Regions from separate parts of the Homo sapiens genome. Here all the other regions are linked to region 1. Evidence: promoter capture Hi-C in human tissues and cell types (Jung and others, 2019). All regions are on one chromosome and are shown on one strand. Each heading gives the region's core, a stretch centred on a gene start or on the middle of the fragment in contact. The rest is flanking DNA. Distances are from core to core; before and after follow the strand shown. Region 1 holds the start of CYP2D6 (cytochrome P450 family 2 subfamily D member 6 (gene/pseudogene)). Region 2 holds the start of RRP7A (ribosomal RNA processing 7 homolog A). Region 3 has its middle 21 kb from the start of RRP7A. Region 4 has its middle 40 kb from the start of NFAM1. Region 5 has its middle 23 kb from the start of NFAM1.

What was found. The method cuts DNA at HindIII sites, captures the fragments that hold promoters and counts their contacts. A contact is called where the count stands out against the background at its distance.
Region 2: the fragment with the promoter of RRP7A here is called in contact with the fragment with the promoter of CYP2D6 in region 1 in 2 of the 25 tissues and cell types used here (hippocampus and lymphoblastoid cells).
Region 3: a contact is called between a fragment that was not itself captured here and the fragment with the promoter of CYP2D6 in region 1, in 2 of the 25 tissues and cell types used here (IMR-90 fibroblasts and spleen).
Region 4: a fragment that was not itself captured here is called in contact with the fragment with the promoter of CYP2D6 in region 1 in 4 of the 25 tissues and cell types used here (IMR-90 fibroblasts, lymphoblastoid cells, mesendoderm cells and 1 more).
Region 5: a fragment that was not itself captured here is called in contact with the fragment with the promoter of CYP2D6 in region 1 in 1 of the 25 tissues and cell types used here (dorsolateral prefrontal cortex).

The regions. Positions count from the first base shown.
Region 1 is chr22:42,129,560-42,132,156 of GRCh38, reverse strand. It overlaps CYP2D6 (cytochrome P450 family 2 subfamily D member 6 (gene/pseudogene)), which reads left to right and starts at 1,347. Exons shown (of 9, transcript NM_000106.6): 1 at 1,347-1,545; 2 at 2,248-2,419. The coding sequence starts at 1,366. RefSeq lists a cis regulatory region at 51-62 and promoters at 1-1,288, 875-1,341. The HindIII fragment of the contact is 22,528 bases long and covers 1-2,597 here.
Region 2 is chr22:42,518,546-42,521,142 of GRCh38, reverse strand. RRP7A (ribosomal RNA processing 7 homolog A) reads left to right here and starts at 1,347. Exons shown (of 7, transcript NM_015703.5): 1 at 1,347-1,429. The coding sequence starts at 1,357. It overlaps LOC124900479 (a long non-coding RNA gene), which reads right to left. Exons shown (of 3, transcript XR_007068117.1): 1 at 1,790-2,597. RefSeq lists enhancers at 146-440, 966-1,025 and silencers at 1,206-1,265, 1,286-1,455, 1,466-1,595. The HindIII fragment of the contact is 27,172 bases long and covers 1-2,597 here.
Region 3 is chr22:42,497,088-42,499,684 of GRCh38, reverse strand. No RefSeq gene overlaps it. Among named protein-coding and RNA genes, the nearest start is that of RRP7A, 21 kb to the left of the region's middle. RefSeq lists enhancers at 1-400, 486-1,006 and a silencer at 608-902. The HindIII fragment of the contact is 5,441 bases long and covers 1-2,597 here.
Region 4 is chr22:42,470,881-42,473,477 of GRCh38, reverse strand. No RefSeq gene overlaps it. Among named protein-coding and RNA genes, the nearest start is that of NFAM1, 40 kb to the right of the region's middle. The HindIII fragment of the contact is 3,065 bases long and covers 1-2,597 here.
Region 5 is chr22:42,454,164-42,456,760 of GRCh38, reverse strand. No RefSeq gene overlaps it. Among named protein-coding and RNA genes, the nearest start is that of NFAM1, 23 kb to the right of the region's middle. The HindIII fragment of the contact is 8,803 bases long and covers 1-2,597 here.

The sequences.
Region 1 (2,597 bases), core at 98-2,597:
AGAATTGCTTGAAGCCTAGAGGTGAAGGTTGTAGTGAGCCGAGATTGCATCATTGCACAATGGAGGGGAGCCACCAGCCTGGGCAACAAGAGGAAATCTCCGTCTCCAAAAAAAAAAAAAAAAAAAAAAGAATTAGGCTGGGTGGTGCCTGTAGTCCCAGCTACTTGGGAGGCAGGGGGTCCACTTGATGTCGAGACTGCAGTGAGCCATGATCCTGCCACTGCACTCCGGCCTGGGCAACAGAGTGAGACCCTGTCTAAAGAAAAAAAAAATAAAGCAACATATCCTGAACAAAGGATCCTCCATAACGTTCCCACCAGATTTCTAATCAGAAACATGGAGGCCAGAAAGCAGTGGAGGAGGACGACCCTCAGGCAGCCCGGGAGGATGTTGTCACAGGCTGGGGCAAGGGCCTTCCGGCTACCAACTGGGAGCTCTGGGAACAGCCCTGTTGCAAACAAGAAGCCATAGCCCGGCCAGAGCCCAGGAATGTGGGCTGGGCTGGGAGCAGCCTCTGGACAGGAGTGGTCCCATCCAGGAAACCTCCGGCATGGCTGGGAAGTGGGGTACTTGGTGCCGGGTCTGTATGTGTGTGTGACTGGTGTGTGTGAGAGAGAATGTGTGCCCTAAGTGTCAGTGTGAGTCTGTGTATGTGTGAATATTGTCTTTGTGTGGGTGATTTTCTGCGTGTGTAATCGTGTCCCTGCAAGTGTGAACAAGTGGACAAGTGTCTGGGAGTGGACAAGAGATCTGTGCACCATCAGGTGTGTGCATAGCGTCTGTGCATGTCAAGAGTGCAAGGTGAAGTGAAGGGACCAGGCCCATGATGCCACTCATCATCAGGAGCTCTAAGGCCCCAGGTAAGTGCCAGTGACAGATAAGGGTGCTGAAGGTCACTCTGGAGTGGGCAGGTGGGGGTAGGGAAAGGGCAAGGCCATGTTCTGGAGGAGGGGTTGTGACTACATTAGGGTGTATGAGCCTAGCTGGGAGGTGGATGGCCGGGTCCACTGAAACCCTGGTTATCCCAGAAGGCTTTGCAGGCTTCAGGAGCTTGGAGTGGGGAGAGGGGGTGACTTCTCCGACCAGGCCCCTCCACCGGCCTACCCTGGGTAAGGGCCTGGAGCAGGAAGCAGGGGCAAGAACCTCTGGAGCAGCCCATACCCGCCCTGGCCTGACTCTGCCACTGGCAGCACAGTCAACACAGCAGGTTCACTCACAGCAGAGGGCAAAGGCCATCATCAGCTCCCTTTATAAGGGAAGGGTCACGCGCTCGGTGTGCTGAGAGTGTCCTGCCTGGTCCTCTGTGCCTGGTGGGGTGGGGGTGCCAGGTGTGTCCAGAGGAGCCCATTTGGTAGTGAGGCAGGTATGGGGCTAGAAGCACTGGTGCCCCTGGCCGTGATAGTGGCCATCTTCCTGCTCCTGGTGGACCTGATGCACCGGCGCCAACGCTGGGCTGCACGCTACCCACCAGGCCCCCTGCCACTGCCCGGGCTGGGCAACCTGCTGCATGTGGACTTCCAGAACACACCATACTGCTTCGACCAGGTGAGGGAGGAGGTCCTGGAGGGCGGCAGAGGTGCTGAGGCTCCCCTACCAGAAGCAAACATGGATGGTGGGTGAAACCACAGGCTGGACCAGAAGCCAGGCTGAGAAGGGGAAGCAGGTTTGGGGGACGTCCTGGAGAAGGGCATTTATACATGGCATGAAGGACTGGATTTTCCAAAGGCCAAGGAAGAGTAGGGCAAGGGCCTGGAGGTGGAGCTGGACTTGGCAGTGGGCATGCAAGCCCATTGGGCAACATATGTTATGGAGTACAAAGTCCCTTCTGCTGACACCAGAAGGAAAGGCCTTGGGAATGGAAGATGAGTTAGTCCTGAGTGCCGTTTAAATCACGAAATCGAGGATGAAGGGGGTGCAGTGACCCGGTTCAAACCTTTTGCACTGTGGGTCCTCGGGCCTCACTGCTCACCGGCATGGACCATCATCTGGGAATGGGATGCTAACTGGGGCCTCTCGGCAATTTTGGTGACTCTTGCAAGGTCATACCTGGGTGACGCATCCAAACTGAGTTCCTCCATCACAGAAGGTGTGACCCCCACCCCCGCCCCACGATCAGGAGGCTGGGTCTCCTCCTTCCACCTGCTCACTCCTGGTAGCCCCGGGGGTCGTCCAAGGTTCAAATAGGACTAGGACCTGTAGTCTGGGGTGATCCTGGCTTGACAAGAGGCCCTGACCCTCCCTCTGCAGTTGCGGCGCCGCTTCGGGGACGTGTTCAGCCTGCAGCTGGCCTGGACGCCGGTGGTCGTGCTCAATGGGCTGGCGGCCGTGCGCGAGGCGCTGGTGACCCACGGCGAGGACACCGCCGACCGCCCGCCTGTGCCCATCACCCAGATCCTGGGTTTCGGGCCGCGTTCCCAAGGCAAGCAGCGGTGGGGACAGAGACAGATTTCCGTGGGACCCGGGTGGGTGATGACCGTAGTCCGAGCTGGGCAGAGAGGGCGCGGGGTCGTGGACATGAAACAGGCCAGCGAGTGGGGACAGCGGGCCAAGAAACCACCTGCACTAGGGAGGTGTGAGCATGGGGACGAGGGCGGGGC
Region 2 (2,597 bases), core at 98-2,597, 390 kb before region 1:
TTGATGTGACTGTCAGAACAGGAGCAAGGCCAGAGTGGCTGCCAGGGATCCTGGGCGCACAGGAGTCTCTGGTGAATGCTAGTAGACCACGGTATTCCCAGGGGCCACGGAAGCCCCAACACTGCTTGACTGCGCTAAGCAAAGAAAGATCAAAAACAAAAAACGAGCGAACAGGACAGTAATGGCAGCTGCTGATGGAAAATCCCAACCCCTCATCCAGTTTCCAGGCCTAAGCTAGGCCTCAGAACCAGAGGTCACTGACTGAAAGGGAGGCTGGGTCCCCTCCAGACCACAAATATTTGCAGTAGTAGGCTCCTAATCTTTCCCCAAAGGGGCCGACAGCATTTCCAAGAAGCAACTGTACACTGGGAAAAGAGAAATAGTAGATACATCAAGGGCTGGCGGGTACACAGTCTGAGAGGCCCTTTGGAGTCCAGAAAAGTGGAGTCCTTGGACTTCATTTCTCCCCTATCTACACTTGCTCCCTTGGCGATCACACCCTCTCATAACTTTCTTTTTTTTTCTCTTTCTTTTTTTTTTGAGACAGAGTCTCGCTCTGTTGCCCAGGCTGGATTGCAGTGGGGCGATCTTGGCTAACTGCAATCTCCGCCTCCTGGGTTCAAGCGATTCTCCTGCCTCAGCCTCCCGAGTAGCTGGAATTACAGGCATGCACTACCACGCCCGGCTACTTTTTGTACCTAGTAGACACGGGGTTTCACCATGTTGGCCAGGCTGGTCTGGAACTCCTGACCTCAAGTGATCCGCCCCCCTCGGCCTCCCAAATTGCTGGGATTACAGGCATGAATCACCGCACCCGGCTCCTCTCGTAACTGTCAATAACCTATCCATGGCCAGTCCCGTGTGTATTGCTCCAGGCCTGACATCTCTGATGTTCAGTCTGTTCAGTCTCATATCTAAGTGCCCACCTGACATGTCCCCTGAGTGGCCTAATGGGCATCTCACCACGGCTCACAGAGAACTGATCTACTCCATTTTCACCCCCAAGCAGGCCCCTCTCCTGCAGTCTTCCCATCTCAGTCAATGGCAACACCATCCTCTTAGTTGCTCAGACTGAAAACCTAGCAGCCATCCTGGATTTCTCTCACACTGCCTATTCAACGTGTGAATGCATGAGTGGAAAGCTGAGTTCGCACTCGTGACTGGCCGGGGTCAACTCTGACATTCGCTCCCACTTTCGCGCGCTGATTTATCTCTGAGCGGATGAAGGTTGGGCCATGGCGGGCGGGGCCGGGGAGGCGGGCTTGGAGTGAGGGGGCGGGGCAGGCGCCACGAAAACGCGCTCGCGCCGGCGCCGAACCGCAACTCCCGGCGGCCCCCGCGCTCCCGGGTGGCAAGATGGTGGCGCGCAGGAGGAAGTGCGCCGCGCGGGACCCGGAGGACCGTATCCCCAGCCCACTGGGCTACGCAGGTGAGGGGCTCCGGGACGCGAGACCGGGGGCGGTCAGGCATCGCCGGGAGGTGTTTGGGGGTTGGCGACGGCCGGGGGTCCCCAGGAGCGGCCGCACGGTTGGGTGTGAGCCCCGGTGGCCCGTGGCCCCAGGCTCCGCAGGTCTTGAGGCTCCGGGGTCCCGAGGACCCAGGCGGCGCCCTTCTGCCTGCTCACTCTCCCGGGGCGAGCCCAACTTGGTCCACGCTTCCCTTGGGTGAGCCCGCCTCTGTCCACACTCTCACCCAGGACAAACCCATTTCCGTCCACACCCGCTCGTCCAGGTGAGCCCATCCCCTTCTCATCGCCTCTGCTCCTAGTCCATCCCCCATCAGCTCTTACCTGGGCTGTTATAGGCCCTCCTACTCGGTTGCCCTCCTTCTCCTCTTGCCCCTGCTTCTGTTCTCCACCCACGTGCCAGAATGTTCTTTTAAGGACATTTAGATTCGATCATGTCTGCCGCGCCCACGATAGGCGCCACACCTACTGCATTCCCTCCAGTGGCTTTATCAGGTAGCTTCTAAAACAAAAACCAGACTTCTTAACCTGTGTGGGCCACGTGGTCTGGCTGGTGCCGACCTAAAGCTCTTTCTGTTCCTCTGAGGGAACATGCTTTTTCCCCCCTCTGGGTTTTTGCACGTGCTGTGCCGGTTTGTTGCACAGTGGCGTTCTGGCCTGAGCTTTAATGTTGCTTCCTCAAAGAGGCCATCCGTGATGGCCTATGGAAAGAAGACCTCTGCCACCCCATCACCCTGTAATGTTTCTTTCACAATTGATACAAGTTTGCTGTATGCTTGTTAATTGTCTTCTCCGTTATTGCAACTGAGCTTCCTGAGTTCAGGGACCGCAGCTCTACGCCAACCGGTACTGTGACGGAGGTGTGAGAAAAATAGAAGCAGTTCCTAGCTTTATGAGGATTACAGTCATGGGTGTGCCAGCGATTAACCAAAGAATCTCATCAATATAGCCTCCAGACTGTTAAGAGAAGCTGTGAAGGCACAGGCAGTGGGATCTGAGCTGGCAGGAGGGGCGGAGGTGATGCTAAGGCTCTCCTGAGGAAGCGAGGTTTGAGCTAAACCTGAGGTGAGCGGGAGGGAAGAGGGTGACACGCCAGGTAGAGAGGCCAGCATGTGTGAGGCCCTGGTGTACC
Region 3 (2,597 bases), core at 45-2,544, 370 kb before region 1:
AGTGGGCCCAGATCGCGGCAGTGCACTCCAGCCTGGGTGACAGAGTGAGTTAAAAAGAAAAAAAAAATAGCAGATTCTCACCAATGTGCAGGAACCCAGAGAATATTGTTCCCAAAGCCTTTCCTGAGGAATTACTAGAAAATAAGCTTCAGACAACCAACGAGACTAAAAAGACATTGACATTAGCCTGGTGTGAACATTAAAGATATATTTACATGGAGAACCAAGAGAAGATGAGGAGTAAAAAGGAGAGGATGGAGTGTAATGGTTACATTCGCCAACAACATAGACAAAGTACAGCTATAAATAGGGGGAGAAAATGGTGTGGGCATATCTTTAAAGTGTGTGTGTGTGTGTGTGTGTGTGTGTGTGTGTGTGTTTTGTTTTTTGTTTTTTGGCCAGGGACGGTGGCTCAGGCTTGTAGTCTCAGCACTTTGGGAGGCCAAGGCAGGTGGGTGGCTTGAGGTCAGGAGTTCGAGACCAGCCTGGCCGATGTGGCGCAACTTCATTGTAGGGAGACCCCCTGAAACTATTGCTATGGAATAAAAGATGAAATGCTCCTGATTATTGTAAATACAAAATTGCATGCAGGATTGTGTAAAGACAATGCCAGGTTGGACTGCCAGAATGAGCCAATAGCACGTGATGTGCTTCCCCCTGCAGAGAGCCTATGAATGGACTTGCAGTCAGGGAAGTTTCACATCACCAAGATTCGTATCCCAGCAAAGCAGATGTTCATAGCTCTGGGAATGGAATGCGACCCTTGTGGAGAGCCTATAAATGGACGCATAGGGGGTGCCTGTCCATATGGATAAGATAGGGCTATAAACGCCCTCATCTTGCCGTGGCTCTTCTAGGCCTCTTTAGGGTTAAGGCATACTCCCTTCTGAGAATTTCTGGTCTAACCGGTTGTCTAGCTTCCTGTTTCCATGGATTGTTTGTAACCAGCTTTTGTTGCAGTTTTTACTACTGATTAAAATCTTGCTAATCATAGGTTATGGAAAGACTGTGTTTCTGTTTTAAGGCTCTGTTAGAAATTACTGACGCACACACTATGTTGTAAATTCTTATCTCTGTATACTATACTTCTACATACAAATGTACTGTACTTCTACATACAAATGTTATGTTAAAGAATTGCTTCATCCCCATGTGACCATCTCACCTCATAATCAAATGACCCTAAATCCCTCACTAACCTACCCCCGACCTCACTAAACTTAATAATAAATGCTGGTATATCCCGTGCATTGTTGGCACTGAGGGACCAGAAGGCAGTGACCCCCCTGGACCCAGCTTTCACTATCTTGTGTGTGTCTATTATTTCTCAACCTGCCAATCCGCTTGGGAACAAAGAGAGAGCCCCGTTGCATTGCAGGCTGCTGGCCAGATCCTGCAATACTTCATCTCTACTAAAATACAAAAATTAGCCAGGTGTGGTGGTGGGCGCCTGTAATCCCAGTTACTTGGGAGGCTGGGGCAGGAGAATCACTTGAACCCAGGAGGTAGAGGTTGCAGTGAGCTGAGATCACACCATTGCACTCCAGCCTGGGTGACAGAGCAAGACTCCGTCTCAAAGAAAAAAAAAAGTAATAATAATACTAAAGTAAAATAAAATGTTTTGGAACTGTTTTTAGTGATCATATGGACTGGTAATGTTATATTTTTATTCTAAGAATGTTTTCGAACATGGGACAAAGCAATTAGTAATTATGTGATATTCAAATTCTATCATCCCCAGTGGCCAGAGAACTGAATTCTTGGTGTAGGGAAAAGGAGTTACAGATGTGAAATAGAAGAGAATGAGTAACATCTTGTCTCCTGAATTTGAATCAGAAGTATCAGTATGTTTCATGAGGCATCTTATCTTAAAAAAAATACACAAATTCACATATACATATACACACACACACAAACACCTTGTAGCTGTGTACTTAGAAAGAGTCTTAACAAAAACATAAAAAGCTTAATCTGATTAACACTCTAGATGCAATGATCAATTTACAGGAGGAAAAAATGAAACCTGTTAACCTATACCACAGGAATGTAACCAGCAAAATCCAGACTATGGGAAGCGATACAAATTAACCATCCCAAATTTTTCAATAAAAAATTGAGAGAGAATAAAGAGATGCAGGGGGAATCTATAGATTGAAAGAGACTCTTAAAAGCAGGCAGTACTAACTATAATATTTAGGGAGACTATATTAATTTTCTATGCTGTGCAACAAGTTACTACAAATTTAGCAGATTTTTTTCTTTTTTTTTGAGATGGAGCCTCATACTGTTGCCAGGCAGTGGTGCAATCCTGGCTCACTGCAAACTCTGCCTCCTGGGTTCAAGCGATTCTCCTGCCTCAGCCTCCCGAGTAGCTTGGAATGACAGGCATGCGCCACCACGTCCAGCTAATTTTGTATATTTAGTAGAGACGAGGTTTCACCATGTTAGCCAGGCTGATCTCGAACTCCCGACCTTAGGTGATCAGCCCGCCTTGGTCTCCTAAAGTGCTGGGATTGCAGGCGCAAGCCACTGCGCCCGGCCCTTTTTTTTTTTTTTTTTTTTTTTTAAGACAGAGTTTCACTCTTGTTGCCCAGGCT
Region 4 (2,597 bases), core at 36-2,535, 340 kb before region 1:
CTGCTCATGGCATGAGGCAGTCCAGTGAACTTTCTATATGGTCCATAGATCACACACAAGACTCATCCCTTAAAATTCATTTAGTTTCAGCTTATAGTGCCTTAGGAACAGAGCAATTCCCATTCTTAGTATTCTATGGAAGAAAGTTGGATTGGAGGAACCAAAAATAATTTAGGGTCAGGTGGGTACGGTGGCTCACGCCTGTAATCCCAGCATCCCGTGCACGCCTCAACCAGGGTAAAAATCTTTATGCTGTATGCAGGCAGATGTGCACAGAAATAGAACTAAAAATGGTCTATAACTGATTCCCTTGAGCTCGCAAGTCCCCACTCTTGCTCACGGCAAAAGAGAGAAAGGAAATAACACCAGGAACATGCTCATCAGAGCTAACTCAGCCTCTTCAGTCTTCCAAAACTCCCTTCCTCATTAACGCGTCAAGATTAAAGTTCAAGTTCAGGTTCAAGTTCCGATCAAGTGTCTCTCCCTGCTCCTTTCTGAGATGCTGCTAGGGTGCGGGGTAACTAGGGCACCCTCCTGGCTCCTGCCTCTCAGCCATGGCCAGGGCGGTTCCTGGACCTTCCGTCCTGGTGTCCACGAGGCGATACCATCATGCATTATTCTCAACCTCCAGCCCAGGGCTCCCAGCCTGGCCTCTGTACCCCAATCTCAGTCTTTTGATTCATCAGGGCCTGGGCTGCTTTTCCCACTCCACACTAGAGAGTGTAGGCTGGGTGTAGCCTCACACTAGATCTGTGAGGCTGCCTTCCAGGCCACTGTCCTAGACCCTTTCCTGGCCATTTCCAAAGCATGCCTGAGCAGCCCCTGTCGTTCTGCTGCCATGCTCACCGCAGGCCTTGCTACCACTGTGTTAACCCCGAGGAGGGAATCAGGACGCTGACATCTGATCTCCTGTGTCTTCCTACTGATGGGAACTTCCCTAAGTCACACCTTCAGACCCTGTGCACTGCTTATAATCCAAGTCCAGGATTCTGTTATTTACGTCTTAAAGCAGAGCCTTTGGAATTTAGAAAATCTCTTTTTTCTCTGAAAGCTCAGTTTCAAGACTACCGAATCACATGCACTTGGAGTCAGTCTTAATACTTAAAAGTGAAAGCGTCTTTCTTTCTCATCACCTACCTACTATGAAAATCATAATTATCCTTGAGGCCAACAGAAGCTTCTGACTGAATAAGAGAAGGAAAAAATATTAATACATCTAAGATAGTATCTGGCCAGGTGCGGTGGCTCATGCCTGTAATCCCAGCACTTTGGGAGGCTGAGGTGGGCAGGTCATTTGAGGTCAGGAGTTCGAGGCCAGTCTGGCCAACATAGTGAAACCCTGTCTCTACTAAAAATACCAAAAAGAAAAAAAAAAAAAAGAGCCTGGCATGGTGGCACACACCTGTAATCCCAGCTACTCGGGAGGCTGAGGCACGAGAATCGCTTGAACCCAGGAGATGGAGGTTGCAGTGAGCCAAGATTGCACCACTGCACTCCCGCCTGGGTTACAGAGTGAAACCCTGTCTCGAAAAAAAAAAAAAAGATAGTATCCCTCTTTTACTTGTAGCATAGCACTTATCACAAATGTACTAGAATTGTTCCATATCTGTCATCCTAAATAGAGAGGAATTACTTAAAGGAAGGGCACAAATCTTACTCACTTTTTATGTCAAGTGCCTAAATATTGTGCCTGGCACTTTATACGCTCCCAGAAACTATTGGATAGATGGATAGGTGGATGAGTGTGTGGATGGGTGGGTGGATGGTGGATGGATGGATGGATGGATGGATGGATATGTGTGTGGGTGGATGGATGGGTGGATGGGTGAAAGGATGGGTGGGTGGGTAAGTGGATAGGTGGGTAGGTGGGTGAAAGGTTGGTGGATGAGTGGATGGGTGGATGAGTGAGTTGTTGGCTGGATGGGTGAGTGGATGGATGGATGGGTGGGTGGATGGATGGGTGGGTAGATGGGTAGTGGATGAGTACATGGGTGGATAGATCAAAAATAAAATGGGGATAAAAGGGATTGGAGATAGGCAAAGGAAGAGGTCATACTTTTTTCCTTGATGCCAACAATAAAAACTCTTAAAGCGTCTTACATGTACCATGACTTGCATCCAGACAACAGGAGACTTCTTGCCAACAGCCACATGAGTAAACCTCCTTGGAAGAAGATCCTCCAGATCTAGTCAAGCCTTCGGATGACTGCAGCCCCAGTGGACACCTTGACTGCAACCTCATTAAGATCTTGAACCAGAACCACCCAGATAAGCCACTCCCAAATTCTTGACCCACAAAAATCGTGAGATAATAAAAGCATCCATTGCTTTAAACCACTAAGTTTTGGGATACTTTGATATGCATCGATAATTAATAAACCTAGCAAACTTCAGCCTGTATCTCATTGTCCAAAACTGTGTCACTTGGCCACCCTGAGATACAGAGGGAGCTGGGAATATAATACGATAGTTGTAGTCATTTTAAAAGGACCATATTAGAACAAAATCGTGGTTCTATTCTTAAGGAAGTGGGGCAGAATGGATACTGGCTGTGCTCTTGGCAGTAACAGCCAAAGGAGGTTACATTTTAGCCAAAC
Region 5 (2,597 bases), core at 38-2,537, 320 kb before region 1:
CCCTTTAAATGTACTGAGACTTGTTTAATGTCTCAGAATATTGTCTATGTTGGTAAATATTCTGTGTGAACTTGAGAGGAATGTGTATTCTGCTGTTGTTGGGTAAAGTGTTTTATAAATGTCCATTGGATCGAGTTGGTTGATAATGTTGTTCAAATCTTCTATATATTTGCTGGTTTTCTGTCTATTCATTCTATCAATTTCTATGTATTTATTCAGAGGTGGGATCTCACTATGTTGTCCAGACTAGACTCAAGTCCTGGGCTAAAGTGCTTCTCCTGCCACAGCCTCCTGAGTAGCTGGGACTACAGGTGATACACGGCTATACCCAGCTATTCTATCAATTCTATCAATTATTGAAAGCAGGGTATTGACATCTTCAACTATGATTGTCAACTTTTCCATTTCTCTTTGCTGTTCTATAAGTTTTTGCTTCAAGTGTTTTGAAGCTCTGTTATTAGGTACATAAACGTTTAGAATTGTTATGTCCTCTGGAATAACTGACCCCTTAATCATTATTGAATTAACCTCTTTATCCCTGGTAATGTCTTCTGCTATACAATCTACTTGGTCTGATATTGATAAGCCACGCTAGCTTTTTTTGGATTTGTGATAGCATGGTAGGTATGTCTTTTTCCATCCTTCTACTTTTAACCTATTTGTGTCTTTATATTTGAAGTGTGTTTCTTATAAATAGGATACTGAATCTTTTTTTAATCCAATCTGACAATCTCTGCCTTTAAATTTGGACATTTTCTTTTCTTTCCTTTTTTTTTTTTTTTTAGAAAGGGTCTCACTCTGTCACCCAGGCTGGAGTGTAGTGGTGCGCAATTGTGGCTCACTGCAGCCTTCACTTCCTGGGCTCAAGTGATCCTCCTGCCTCAGCCTCCGCAGTAGCTGGGACTACAGGTGCACACCACCACACCCGGCTAAATATTGTATTTTTTGTAGAGATAGGGTTTCACCATGTTGGCCAGGCCTAGACCATTTACTTTTTATTTTATTATTCATTTATTTATTTTGAGACAGAGTCTCGCTCTGTCACCCAGGCTGGAGTACAGTGGAGCGATCCACCAACCTCTGCCTCCCAAGGTGCTGGGATTACAGTCATGAGCCACCGCATCCAGCCTGAACTCATTGTATTTATTGTAGTTTCTTAAATAGATGGAGTGTGTATGTGGAGAATCAGAAATACACTACTTTTAGGTTCTTTTTTTTGGGAGGGTGGGGAGTGGGGATAGGGTCTTGCTCTGTTGCCCAGGTTGGAGTGCAGTGGCACAATCATGGCTCACTGCAGCCTTGACTTCCTGGGCTCAAGCGATCCCAAGTAGCTGAGACTACAGGCATGTACTACCATACCCAGCTAATTTTTTACATTTTTTTGTAGAGATGGGGTGTCACTGGTCTCAAACTTGTGGGCTCAAGCAATCTACCCTCCTCAGCCTCCCAAAGTGCTGGGATTACAGGCATAAGCCACCGCACCTGGCCAATGTTCTTATGCTTTATATTAAGTAGTATATTGGCTGGGCATGGTGGCTCATGCCTGTAATTCCAGCACTTTGGGAGGCTGAGGCAGGCGGATCACAAGGTCAGGAGATAGAGACCATCCTGGCGAACACGGTGAAACCCTGTCTCTACTAAAAATACAAAAAATTAGCCGGGCATGGTGGCAGGCACCTGTAGTCCCAGCTACTTGGGAGACTGAGACAGGAGAATGGCGTGAACCCGGGAGGCAGAGCTTGCAGTGAGCCAAGATTGCGCCACTGCACTCCAGCCTGAGGGACAGAGCGAGACTGTCTAAAAAAAAAAAAAAAAAGGTAGCATATTATCACTTAAAGGTAGATTGTGATTGGCAGGGCACGGTGGCTCACGCCTGTAATCCCAGCATTTTGGGAGCCCGAAGTGGGTGGATCATGAGGTCAGGAGTTTGAGACCAGCCTGACCAACATGGTGAAACTCCATCTCTACTAAAAGTACAAAATTTAGCCAGGTGTGGTGGTGGACACCTGTAATCCCAACTACTCAAGAGGCTGAGGCAGGTGAATTGCTTGAACCCAGGAGACAGAGGTTGCAGTTCACACCATTGCACTCCATCCTGGGCAACAGAGCGAGACTCTTGTCTCAAAAACAAAAAAAAGAAGGTAGATTATGATTAATTGAAGTTGAACAAAAATCAACTAGGAAATACTTTTTTTTTTTTCTTTTTTGAGACAGGGCCTCACTCTGTCACCCAGGCTGGAGTGCAGTGGTGCAATCTCGACTCACTGCAAACTCCACCTCTCAGGCCCAGGTCATCCTCCCACCTCAGCCTCCCAAGCAGCCTCCAAGCACCTGCACCACCACATCTGGCTAATTTTGTATTTTTTGTAGAGATGGGGTTTTGTCATATTGCCCAGGCTGGTCTCAAATTCTTGGGCTTAGTTGACCTGCCCACCTCAGCCTCCCAAAGTGCTGGGATCGCAGGCATGAGCCGCCGCCCTGGCCTGGGAATTTTTTTTTTTCAATTTAAATTTGATTTAGAACTAAATAAAGCATTTACATGATGGCAAAGTCAAAACTGAAGAACAAGGTGTATTAAAGAGGTCTGCTTCCATCCC